2 separate regions of the Homo sapiens genome follow, and region 1 is linked to region 2. The links are contacts of gene promoters, found by promoter capture Hi-C in human tissues and cell types (Jung and others, 2019). All regions are on one chromosome and are shown on one strand. The core of a region is centred on a gene start or on the middle of the fragment in contact, and the rest is flanking DNA. Distances in the headings are between cores, read along the strand shown.

Region 1 (6,211 bases), core at 1,956-4,455, 59 kb before region 2:
ATGTATGGAAAGAATATTTTCCATTTTTATTTTCCTACTTATTTACCTACTTTGTCATTTTTAAATCATTTTTATTCATTCTTCTTTAATCATTTTTTATATATCTTGTATGAATACACATAGCTAACTATTACTCCATAAAAGATTTTTGTCCGACCTTCCTCTCTGCAAGTCCTTAGCCTTTTAGGTTCAAACCAGTCACGTAGGTTGTTTCCAGTTTTCTTCTCATAAATCATTTGATGAACATACTAGGTAATCAATTTTTATACACACAATTATTTCCTTAGGAAAAATTTCAAAAAGTGAAATTATTAAGTCTAAATATTGGCATATTTTAAAGCCTTCGATATCTCTAAGGAAATTTCCCTCCAGAAGAGTTTTTACAACTCACATTCCCATCAGCAAGGCTCTTAGGCGTTGTTGACTGATCCTAGGAATCAGTCTCTTGGGGAGTTTAATTTAATTCATTATAACTTGTTCTTATGGCATAAAGATACTGAAATCTGAGCTGAAACCTCAGCTGAAACCTGAGCTGAAACCTTTGTAAGGCTGATTTAATGTTCAGAATTAAGAATCAGCTTTCAAATTAGCTCTCTTAATATTTAGCACCTGGTGTTATTTAACGGCTATTATCTTGATGAATTTCCATAATAAAACACAGCTTTTAATCTTAAATCCTAGCATGTCTCAGCCAATCTCAAAATGAGGATGGGGACAGGGACATTTTATTGATCTGTTTGACTGAAGCCTCCGCAACCTTACCCTTGGAGAAATGCACCACAAAATGTTTTCTTTAAAACAAATCATTCTGGGTTCGAGCCCTGGTTCAGACCTAAATTCCTAACACCGCAGCTGTTAGGTTTCTCTCTAGAATGTACAATCAAAATCTTTCTCCTGATTATTTATAATGATGGAATAGTTCTGTACCTTGATAGCAGTGGTGGTTACACACATCTACACATATGATAAAATGGCATAAAGTAATCACATACATTATATAAATGTAAATTTCCTGGTTCTGATTATTTTATTATAGTTATATAAAATGTAACCATTGGGGAAAACCCAAGCAAAAGGCTTATATGTCCTCTCTGTACTATCTTTGTAATTTTCCATGAGTCTATAATTATAGTCATATACCACATAATAACTTTTTGGTTAATGATGGACTGCATACACAATGGTGGTCTCGTAAGATTAAACTGTATTTTTTCTGTACCTTTTCTATGTTCAGGCATACAAGTACTTACCATTTTGTTACAAGTGCCTGCAGTATTCAGTACAGTAACATGCTGTATAGATTTATAGCCTAGCAGCAATAGACTACGCAATATATAGCCTCAGCATGTAGTAGGCTATACCATCTAGGTTTGTGTAAATACAGTCTATGATGCTGGCACAACAATGAAATTGTCCAGTGACTCATTTGTCAGAATGTATCCTCGTCACTAAGTGACACATGACTGTATTTCACAATAGATATTTATTTATTTATTTACTTCGAGACAAAGTTTTGCTCTTGTCACCCACACTGGAGTGCACTGGCTCAATCTCGGCTCACTGCAACCTCTGCCTCCTGGTTTCAAGTGATTCTCCTGCCTCAGCCTCCCGAGTAGCTGGGATTACAGTCATGCGCCACAATGCTTGGCTAATTTTGTATTTTTAGTAGAGACGAGGTTTCACCATGTTGGTCAGGCCAGTCTCTAACTCCTGACCTCAAGTAATACACCCACTTCAGCCTCCCAAAGTGCTGGGATTATAGGTATGAGCCACCATGCCCGGCCACAATAAATTTTAAAAATCTTTCTCCAAGAGTTACCTTAAGAGACTTTAATTTTTTTTTGCATAGATAATACACTCACACGGTTTCAAAAGTGTTGCCCTCTTCCCTTTCTCCACCTAACCCATACCGCCATCCCGTTTCTATTGCTTCCCCTAACTTCTTTTCTTCTATATCTTTCTGGTGTTTTTTTGTATAAAATATAGGCAAATATGAATATATTCTTATTTTTCCCACCTTTCACACACAAAGGGTATGTGTTAATTTGGGTCCTCTGAAAAGCTGTTGTCAAGACAGACTTAAATGTGAGAATAATTATCAGAATTGGGATTATTGGGTCAAAAGGAAAATATATTTGAAATTAATAATAAATACTTCTAAAATTTTTCTCCACAGGAATTGTACTATTTTGCACTCTCACCAATGAAGTGTGAGATTGCAGTAGCTCCTCATCTTGCCAAAAGAGTGTGCCATGAAACTTTTGAATTTTGTCAATCTGCTGTGAGAAAAAAGGTGTGATTTTAATTTGCATCTATCTTATAAGTTTGACCATCTTTTCATGTCTTTAGGGGTCATTAGTATTTCTTTTTCTGTGGACTGTTTATGTCATTTGCCAATTTTTCTGTTGGATCATTGGGTACTCTTTACATATAAGGCAAATCAGTGTTTTGTCTAATAAGGTTTGCAACTTTTTCAGGTTGTAGTTTGTCTTTTGGCTTTGCTTATAGTGTGTTATACTATGCAAAACACACTATATTTATTCTATGTAGTAGAATAAATTAATCCTTTATTTTATGGTTTCATTGTCTTAACTAAAAAGTCTTTCCTCTCAATAAGGTTCTAAAAGAATCATTCCATGTATTCTTCTACTATTTTCATGTAAGCACTATTTATATATGATTTTTTCAAATTAAATCCTCTATTAATTTGAAGTTAACCCAAGTATATGATACAACCTATGAATTTGCCTATCTTTTTCAAGAAGGCAAGCCAGTTGTCCTAAAACCATTTATTCAAAAGATATATGTTTATTCTACTGATTTGAGATGCTACCTCTCTCGTATACTAATACATACATGCTCTATTCCTGGATATTTTGTTCTGCTCTGTTTGTCTGTCAGTTTATGCATAAGTACCATACTGTTTTAATTATTAAGACTATATAGTCTCTTATTAACTGACAGCACTAATCTCAGTGCTATCATAGTTCTTTCTTTTAAGAGTTTTCCTGGATATTTTTGCTTACCTTCAACCATAAATTTAGAATCAGCTTGTCTAATTGGGCCCCCTAACCAGAGAAATCTATTGGCATTTTTGTTGGGATCACATTAGTTTATAAATTACCTTGGGAAGAATTGTTGAGTCTTTCTATCCCTTAGAATATGGTATATCTATTTGTTCAAGATTGCATTTATGGCCAGGCATGGTGGCTCATGCCTGTAATCCCAGCACTTTGGGAGGCCGAGGCAGGCGGATCACCTGAGGTCAGGAGTTCAAGACCAGCCTGGCCAACATGGTGAAACCCTATTTTGCATTTTGTAAAAATACAAAAATTAGCCAGGCGTGGTGTTGGGTGCCTGTAATCCCAGCTACTAGGGAGGCTGAGGCAGGAAAATCACTTGAACCTGGGAGGCGAAGTTGCAGTGAGCCAAGACTGCGCCACTGCACTCCAGCCTGGGTGACAGAGCAAGATTCTGTCTCCAAAAAAAGGATTGCATTTATATATTTGAAAATGATTTACCTTTTTTCTCAAAAAGGTTTTACATATTTTGTTTCTGGGTATTTATTCCTTGTGTTGCTATTGTAAAGGGGACCTTCTTCTCCAATATATCTTCTAATTGTCATTTGTATACACAAAAGTTTTTTATTTCTGCATATTAATTTTTATATTCTGCTACCTGACTGAATTCTCTCTCTCTCTCCCTCTCTCTCTCTCTCCCCCCACCTACTAGTAGTAGTAAATTTTAGTTGATTACCTTGGGTTTTTCAGGAATACAGTCATACCACTTTCCAATAGTGACAGTTTTACTTTCATTTTACCATTTTTTAATGCTTTCAATTTCTTCCTGTTTTCCAGTTGTGTTGCTCACTCCACTCTCTACCAAACAAAGGCAATGAAGAGCAAGATAAGCAGGTAGCGGGGCCAGAAGAAGTCTTTAGTGAGAGTGTTCCTTAGGTTTGTGTTTTGTCATAGCTTTTCTTCTATTATAGCCACCAACGTACGCCAGGCACAGTGCTAAATTTAATTTACAACATCCCATTTAATCCTACAAGCATTCTGTGAAGTTGATATTACTATTGGCTCCATTTTACAGATTTTTTAAAAAGTCTGAAATGCAGAAAGGGAAAAAAATTGCCCAAGGTCACAAAAAAAGTGGTAAAAGTAAGATTCAAATCTAGGTCTAATTCCAAAGAAACCACTCAACTACCATGCTAGTTACATACACCCCAGAATAGCATAAGGTGCCCTTTGCTGTAACTTTCCAGAAAAGAAGGACTCTGGTCTTGCTGAGGCCCATATTTGAGCCGTAGTCTGTGGTTTTGGCCGGATCCAGATTCAAGCTTCTTAAACAGCTTGCATGGGATAGCCCTAAAATATCCCTGAATGTGTTTCCCATTGCCCATAACCTCTGAAAGAGAATAAGCTCTGGGAGTGCAGAGTCTAATTTTGTCTTTGAACTTGTCATTTGTAGCCATGTCCAGTGAAATAATGTAGTATGCGCATGAGCAGAGGAGATAGATGCAATATGTCTGTCACCATTCAAATATAGCATTTGCAATGCCCCATGAACACAGAATTCTGGTGGACCAATGTCTGAGTTCAGCAAGACTCAAAGTGAGTACAAGGTAAGCATATTATGGAAGCCACTGACTTCCATAGTGTCGGTAGATGTGCACGCATCCAGAATATGAATTCTGTAATGTTAGTGATACCGCATGAAAGTGAAGTGCTCTGATATTTACATTTAAAACTGACAATGGGGGCAGCCAAGATGGCCGAATAGGAACAGCTCCGGTCTACAGCTCCCAGCGTGAGCGACGCAGAAGATGGGTGATTTCTGCATTTCCATCTGAGGTACCCGGTTCATCTCACTAGGGAGTGCCAGACAGTGGGCGCAGGACAGTGGGTGCAGCGCACCATGCGCGAGCCGAAGCAGGGCGAGGCATTGCCTCACTCCGGAAGCGCAAGGGGTCAGGGAGTTCCCTTTCCTAGTCAAAGAAAGGGGTGACAGACGGCACCTGGAAAATTGGGTCACTCCCACCCTAATACTGCGCCTTTCCGACGGGCTTAAAAAACGGCACACCAGAAGACTATATCCCGCACCTGGCTTGGAGGGTCCTACGCGCACGGAGTCTCGCTGATTGCTAGCACAGCAGTCTGAGATCAAACTGCAAGGCAGCAGCGAGGCTGGGGGAGGGGCGTCCGCCATTGCCCAGGCTTGCTTAGGTAAACAAAGCAGCCTGGAAGCTCGAACTGGGTGGAGCCCACCACAGCTCAAGGAGGCCTGCATGCCTCTGTGGGCTCCACCTCTGGGGGAAGGGCACGGACAAACAAAAAGTTAGCAGTAACCTCTGCAGACTTAAATGTCCTTGTCTGACAGCTTTGAAGAGAGCAGTGGTTCTGCCAGCATGCAGCTGGAGATCTGAGAACGGGCAGACTGCCTCCTCAAGTGGGTCCCTGACCCCTGACCCCCGAGCAGCCTAACTGGGAGACACCCCCCAGTAGGGGCAGACTGACACCTCACATGGCCGGGTACTCCTCTGAGACAAAACTTCCAGAGGAACGATCAGACAGCAGCATTCGCGGTTCACGAAAATCCACTGATCTGCAGCCACCACTGCTGATACACAGGCAAACAGGGTCTGGAGTGGACCTCTAGCAAACTCCAACAGACCTGCAGCTGAGGGTCCTGTCTGTTAGAAGGAAAACTAACGAACAGAAAGGACATCCACACCAAAAACCCATCTGTACATCACCATCATCAAAGACCAAAAGTAGATAAAACCGCAAAGATGGGGAAAAAAACAGAGCAGAAAAACTGGAAACTCTAAAAAGCAGAGCACCTCTCCTCCTCCAAAGGAATGCAGCTCCTCACCAGCAACGGAACAAAGCTGGACGGAGAATGACTTTGACGAGTTGAGAGAAGAAGGCTTCAGACGCTCAAACTACTCCGAGCTACAGGAGGAAATTCAAACCAAAGGCAAAGAGTTAAAAACTTTGCAAAAAATTTAGACGAATGTATAACTAGAATAACCAATACAGAGAAGTGCTTAAAGGAGCTGATGGAGCTGAAAGCCAAGGCTCGAGAACTATGTGAAGAATGCAGAAGCCTCAGGAGCTGATGAGACCATCTGGAAGAAAAGGTATCAGTGATGGAAGATGAAATGAATGAAATGAAGCGAGAAGGGAAGTTTAGAGAAAAAAGAATA
Region 2 (6,105 bases), core at 1,069-3,568:
AGCCTCAGGGATACCATCAAATGTACCTCATCACAGGAGTCTCAGGAGGAGAAGAGAGGGAACAGGGCATTAAAAAAATTGAAGAAATAATGACAAAACATCTGAAATCTGATGAAAAGCATGAATATACATACCCAAGAAGTTCACAAACTCTAAGAAGGATAAACTCAGAGATCCACACCAAGACAAATTATAGTCAAATTGTTGAAACCCAAAGATTTTAAAAGCAGCAAGAGAGAAGTAACTCATTATGTACAAGAGATTCTCAATAAGATTACCAGCTGATTTCAGAAACCATGGGAGGCCAAAAGACAATGGGGGATATATTTAAAGACTGAAGAAAAAAAAAAGTCAAACAAGAATTCTATATATCCAGCAAAACTATGCTGCAAGAATTAAGGAGAAATAAGACATTTCCAGATAAACAAAACTTAGGAAGTTCATTAATAGTAGACCTGCCCACAAGAAAAGCTAACGGGAGAAAGAAAAAACAAACAAACAAACAAACAAATGCTAAAGGAAGACCTTCAGAATGAAACAAAAGGACAAAAAATAATAACTCACAGCCACACAAAGAAACAAAGATCTCTGATAAACATAACAACATAGCAGGCTGGGCGCAGTGGCTCATGTCTGTAATCCCAGCACTTTGGGAGGCCAAGGTGAGCGGATCATTTGAGGTCAGGAGTTTGAGACCAACCAGGCCAACATGGTGAAACCCCATCTCTACAAAAAATAGAAAAATTAGCTGGATGTGGTGACAGGTGCCCATAATCCCAGTTACTCGGGAGGCTGAGGCAGGAGAATGGCTTGAACCCGGAGGGTGGAGGTTGCAGTGAGCCAAGATCACGCCACTGCACTCCAGCCTGGGCGAAAGAGTGAGACTCTGTCTCAAAAAAAAAAAAAAAAAAGTAACAACATTGCCAGGTATGCTGGTTCACACTTGTAATCCCATTACTTTGGGAGGCCAAGGCGGGTGAATTGCTTGAGGTCAGGCGTTCGAGACTAGCCTGGGCAACATAGTGAGACCTCGTGTCTACAAAAAATACAAAAATTAGCCAGGCATGGTGGCCCCACTACTCAGGAGACTGAGGTGGAAGGATCACTTGAGCCCAGGAGGTCGAGGCTGCTGTGAGCTGAGATTGTGCCACCGCACTCCAGCCTGGGTGACAAAGCGAGACCCTGTGTCAAAAAAAAAAAAAAAGATAAAAGCTAGTATTGTATTTTTAGTTTGTAGCCCCACTTTTTTCTATATAATTTAAAAGGAAAATGCATTAAACAATAATTATAAATCTATGTCAATGGGAACACAATGTATAAAGATGTAATCTGTGACAATAACAATATAAAGAAGGGACTAAAATGTATACGAGCAAAATGTTTATATACCATTGAAACTAAGTTGGTATTATTCAAACTAGGTTGTTATCAGTTTAGAATGTTAATTATAATCACCAAGGTATCCATTAGGAAAATAACTACAAAATATATAGAAAAGGAAAGCAAAGGGGAATCAAAATGGTTATGCTACAGACCAGGTGCAGTCGCTCATACCTATAATTCCAGCACTTTGGGTGGCCAAGGCAGGAGGATCGCTTGAGCCCAGGAGTTCAAGACCAGACTGGGCAACATAGCAAGACCTCATCTCTAGAAAAAATAAAAATGAAAAATGAAAACAGTAGCCGGACGTAGTGGCATGTGCCTGTGGTCCCAGCTCCTCAAGAGGCTGAGGCAGGCAGATCATTTGAGCCCAGGAGCTCAAGACTAGCCTGGGCTAGACATCGTGAAACCTCGTCTCTACAAAAAAAAAATAGAAAAATCAGCCAGGCGCAGTGGTGCTTGCCTGTAGTCCCAGCTCCTGGGGAGGTTGAGGTAGGAGGATCACTCGAGCCCAGGAGGCGGAGATTTCAGTGAGCCAAGATCAACCACTGCACTCCAGCCTGGGTGACAGAGTTAGACCCTGTCTCAAAAAAAAAAAAAAAAAAAAGAACTCTTACAATTTAATAATCAGATTTGCTGGAAGGAGGGGAAGGGTATGGATCCTGGAGCGTAGTGAGGAGACAGTCATGGTGTTCCAGGGGAGAGGCAGTGAGGCCTGCATGAAAGCAGTAGCTGGGAATAGAAGGAAGGCTCAGGCCCAGACATATTCAACTAATGAGGACATAAAATTTGGCAGCTGAGGACTGTCCACTTAGTTTGAGATAAGTGGGGCTGGGTGCCAGCAAATCCAGCTTTCAGGAAGGAAAAGGAGTGGGGATAAGTTAAGGGAAGTGAAAGTGTCTAGCTACATAAATAGCAGGCCAATCCCAGCCCACGCACAGACCCCCAACTTGCAGCTGCCCACCTCACCCTCAGCTCTGGCCTCTTACTCACCCTCTACCACAGACATGGCTCAGTCACTGGCTCTGAGCCTCCTTATCCTGGTTCTGGCCTTTGGCATCCCCAGGACCCAAGGTACCAAGGCAGGGAGGGGCCTTGCATGGGGCTAAGGGGATCAAGAGGCCTGGATAGGAGCTTGCCAGCAGCCCCTGGCTCCCTGTGAATCCCACCCTGCAGGCAGTGATGGAGGGGCTCAGGACTGTTGCCTCAAGTACAGCCAAAGGAAGATTCCCGCCAAGGTTGTCCGCAGCTACCGGAAGCAGGAACCAAGCTTAGGCTGCTCCATCCCAGCTATCCTGTGAGTGGACACAAAGGGGTGGGTACTGGCTGGTGACGGGGTGGGGAGGGCATGGTGGGCAAGACTAAGAAGGCTTACTAGCCCCCACCCGCAGGTTCTTGCCCCGCAAGCGCTCTCAGGCAGAGCTATGTGCAGACCCAAAGGAGCTCTGGGTGCAGCAGCTGATGCAGCATCTGGACAAGACACCATCCCCACAGAAACCAGCCCAGGGCTGCAGGAAGGACAGGGGGGCCTCCAAGACTGGCAAGAAAGGAAAGGGCTCCAAAGGCTGCAAGAGGTGAGGAATCTGAGGGATGTGGGTAAAGGGGAGCCTCAGTCAGCCCCTCACACCCCTCTTCTGCCCTCACAGGACTGAGCGGTCACAGACCCCTAAAGGGCCATAGCCCAGTGAGCAGCCTGGAGCCCTGGAGACCCCACCAGCCTCACCAGCGCTTGAAGCCTGAACCCAAGATGCAAGAAGGAGGCTATGCTCAGGGGCCCTGGAGCAGCCACCCCATGCTGGCCTTGCCACACTCTTTCTCCTGCTTTAACCACCCCATCTGCATTCCCAGCTCTACCCTGCATGGCTGAGCTGCCCACAGCAGGCCAGGTCCAGAGAGACCGAGGAGGGAGAGTCTCCCAGGGAGCATGAGAGGAGGCAGCAGGACTGTCCCCTTGAAGGAGAATCATCAGGACCCTGGACCTGATACGGCTCCCCAGTACACCCCACCTCTTCCTTGTAAATATGATTTATACCTAACTGAATAAAAAGCTGTTCTGTCTTCCCACCCAAGTACCTGTTCCCATGTGTTTATGTCCACCGAGATGCCAAGGTTCCTACAGGGTGGGGTCACACACTCTGAGCCGAAAGCTCAGGCTGAAAAATGCTATGTTCTCATCTACCCCAAGAGTTTCCTTGCCTCTCAGGTGCCTGCACCCCTGAGCAGTTAAAGGGAGGCTGAAGGACAGGGTAGGACCCAGTCTTCTGAGGCATCCTGCCAATGGAGAGGTGGTGGACATGGAGCACACACCCCCAACAGCTCTGCAGACCTCTGAGACCCTGATTCTGTCCTGCACTAACTCCAGGGGTGACCTTCGGATCTTTTCCATGACCTTCAGACCTTTCCCCAGATATCCCAGAGGCTTCCTCTCTTTTCCCTGGGAACTATTCAATGAGACCCTCCAAGTGGTTCTTTGGAAGGGTCCCTAGGAGGGAAGCTGTGGCTTGGGCCCATCTATAACACAGACAAACACAAGTTATATTGAAACCTGCCCTAGCACAGTTCCAGCCCTGAGAGAGCCCCTGGGAGGCAAAGACCCGAGGGGACTTGCTTCAGCCCTATTCAGTGAAGCTCGGGCCTTGACCTCTCCTCTTTGTTTAATGGGGCTGTTGTGCTCTCCTTCTATTCCTATCTGGGCCCCTGGACTCACTCAGCCTCCTTCCAGATGGAAAAACCTCCTCCCTTTTTTTTTCCTCCTTTCTTTCCTGGCTGGGATCCAGACTACTTTAGCCCATTTAACCCTTTGAAGTCAAGGAATAAGTCTCCTGGGGCAGGTTTTCAGAACCCCAGGATTCAGGTGTGAATCAGTCTCCTCTCCTGGAAGGCCTCAGATGGCTCTCCTCTACCTCTTCCTCCCCAGAGTGAAGACCCTTCTATTCCCCAAATCACCTCCAGGCGGGGAGAGTAGAAGCCATCAGATTGGGCCAGACAATGTGAGAAAGAAGGGAACAGATCCTGGGGAAGGGCAAGAAAGGTAGGAACCTCAAGGCCGGGCGCGGTGGCTCAGGCCTGTAATCCCAGCACTTTGGGAGGCCAAGGCAGGCGGATCATGAGGTCAGGAGTTCCTGACCAGCCTGGCCAACATGGTGAAACCCCGTCTCTACTAAAAATACAAAAATTAGCCGGGCATTGTGGCGGGCGCCTGTAATCCCAGCTACTCGGGAGGCTGAGGAAGGAGAATCACTTGAACCCAGGAGGCGGAGGTTGCAGTGAGGTGAGATCGATTGTGCCATTGCACTCCAGTCTGGGCGACAAGAGCAAGACTCCATTTCAGGAAAAGAAAAAAAAAGGAGGAGAAGAAGAAGAAGAAAGGTAGGAACCTCAGAAGCTAGAAGTGGCTGCTCCATCAACTTTTCCTTCTGTAGGAGCCTGAGTATGCCACAGCACTTACCACCTATCCTAACATCCTCAAGTATTGGCTTGTCTGCTCCTCTTGCAGCAGGTGAAGACAGGGCCTCTCCCCTGCCTGTCCTAGGGCAGCAGGTGTGAAATTAATCTATAAACTCAGATATGCAAGAAATACTACTTTTGAAATGTTCCTTAAATGAACTTAATTCCTACTCCAAGCTACTGCACTAGAGTGCTGATGAGAAATTCAACATCAGGCACTCTTGTGGGATCCCACCTGCCAAGGGTTATGCAAAGGTCACAGAAACCTCAAGGCCCAAGGGAGGCCTCCTACCTGCCTCCTACACCATCCTATCATTGGACATCAGTCTCGCCAGTGAGTGTTCTGACCCCTGTGGTTCCAGCAGGTATATCTCTTCAAGTCCTAGACTCCACATTTGAGACATAAGAATTCAGATATGACAGCCTCTGGGCTTGGACTTGACCTCCCCAGATACCCCCGAAGCCATCTACTCAACAGTCCTGTCACTTGCCCCATCACAGACAGAAATTAGAGCCCAGTGCCCACTCTGGCTGGATGTACACACTAATCCCTTCGCAGTCCTAAACAATTGTCTCCCTCTCCTCAGCCCCTCCAGGGCATAACCTCTTCCCCAAGTTTACAAGTTTACTTTTTTTTTTTTTTAAGGCTTGCTTTGTAGTCCAGGCTGGAGTGCAAAGGTAGGATCATAGCTCACTGTAACCTCAAACTCCTGGGCTCAAGGGATCCTCCTGCCTCAGGCTCCAAGTTGCTGGGATTACAGGTGTGAGCCTCTATGCCCGGCATTTTCCCCTGGTGTAAGACATTTACAAAAGGCCTTTGACGTCAGGCTCCCTTTGACATCAGGACATCACTCCCAGCCCTGCCAAAACTCTTGCCTACTCTATAGTGAAAAGAAAAACATAGGCAGAAAAAACAAAACTCTCTATTTCACTAAATTCTCCTGCCACACCTGCATGCCTGGTATTTGCCTCAAGCCCTGCTCTGAGTAAGCATGCAATATATTATTTATTCCATCAGATCATGACTGGCCACTCTCCTTGTCTGCCTTCATCTTTGACAACATTGTCCTGTTCTTTCTCTTTTCTCTCTTATTCTCTTGATGCATAATTCAAAAAATATCACATAATACACACTCACAGTTAAAAAATATATCCAAAAGTACCAAAAGGTTTATTCTGAATAACATAATTTCCTACAACTTTAACTCCTATGCTATTTCTTAGTGCCATATGTCTAAGTACTTTGCCTATACCTCTGTTTCTTGATTTACCTATTTT

What was found. The method cuts DNA at HindIII sites, captures the fragments that hold promoters and counts their contacts. A contact is called where the count stands out against the background at its distance.
Region 1: a fragment that was not itself captured here is called in contact with the fragment with the promoter of CCL21 in region 2 in 1 of the 25 tissues and cell types used here (pancreas).

Annotation. Positions count from the first base shown.
Region 1 is chr9:34,766,405-34,772,615 of GRCh38, reverse strand. It overlaps a transcript of PHF24 not described here. Among named protein-coding and RNA genes, the nearest start is that of SPATA31F1, 40 kb to the right of the region's middle. RefSeq lists an enhancer at 5,163-5,665. The HindIII fragment of the contact is 8,791 bases long and covers 1-6,211 here.
Region 2 is chr9:34,706,349-34,712,453 of GRCh38, reverse strand. It overlaps CCL21 (C-C motif chemokine ligand 21), which reads left to right and starts at 2,318. Exons shown (of 4, transcript NM_002989.4): 1 at 2,318-2,454; 2 at 2,557-2,677; 3 at 2,772-2,954; 4 at 3,027-3,449. The coding sequence starts at 2,388. The coding sequence ends at 3,060. It also overlaps a transcript of PHF24 not described here. The HindIII fragment of the contact is 9,492 bases long and covers 1-6,042 here.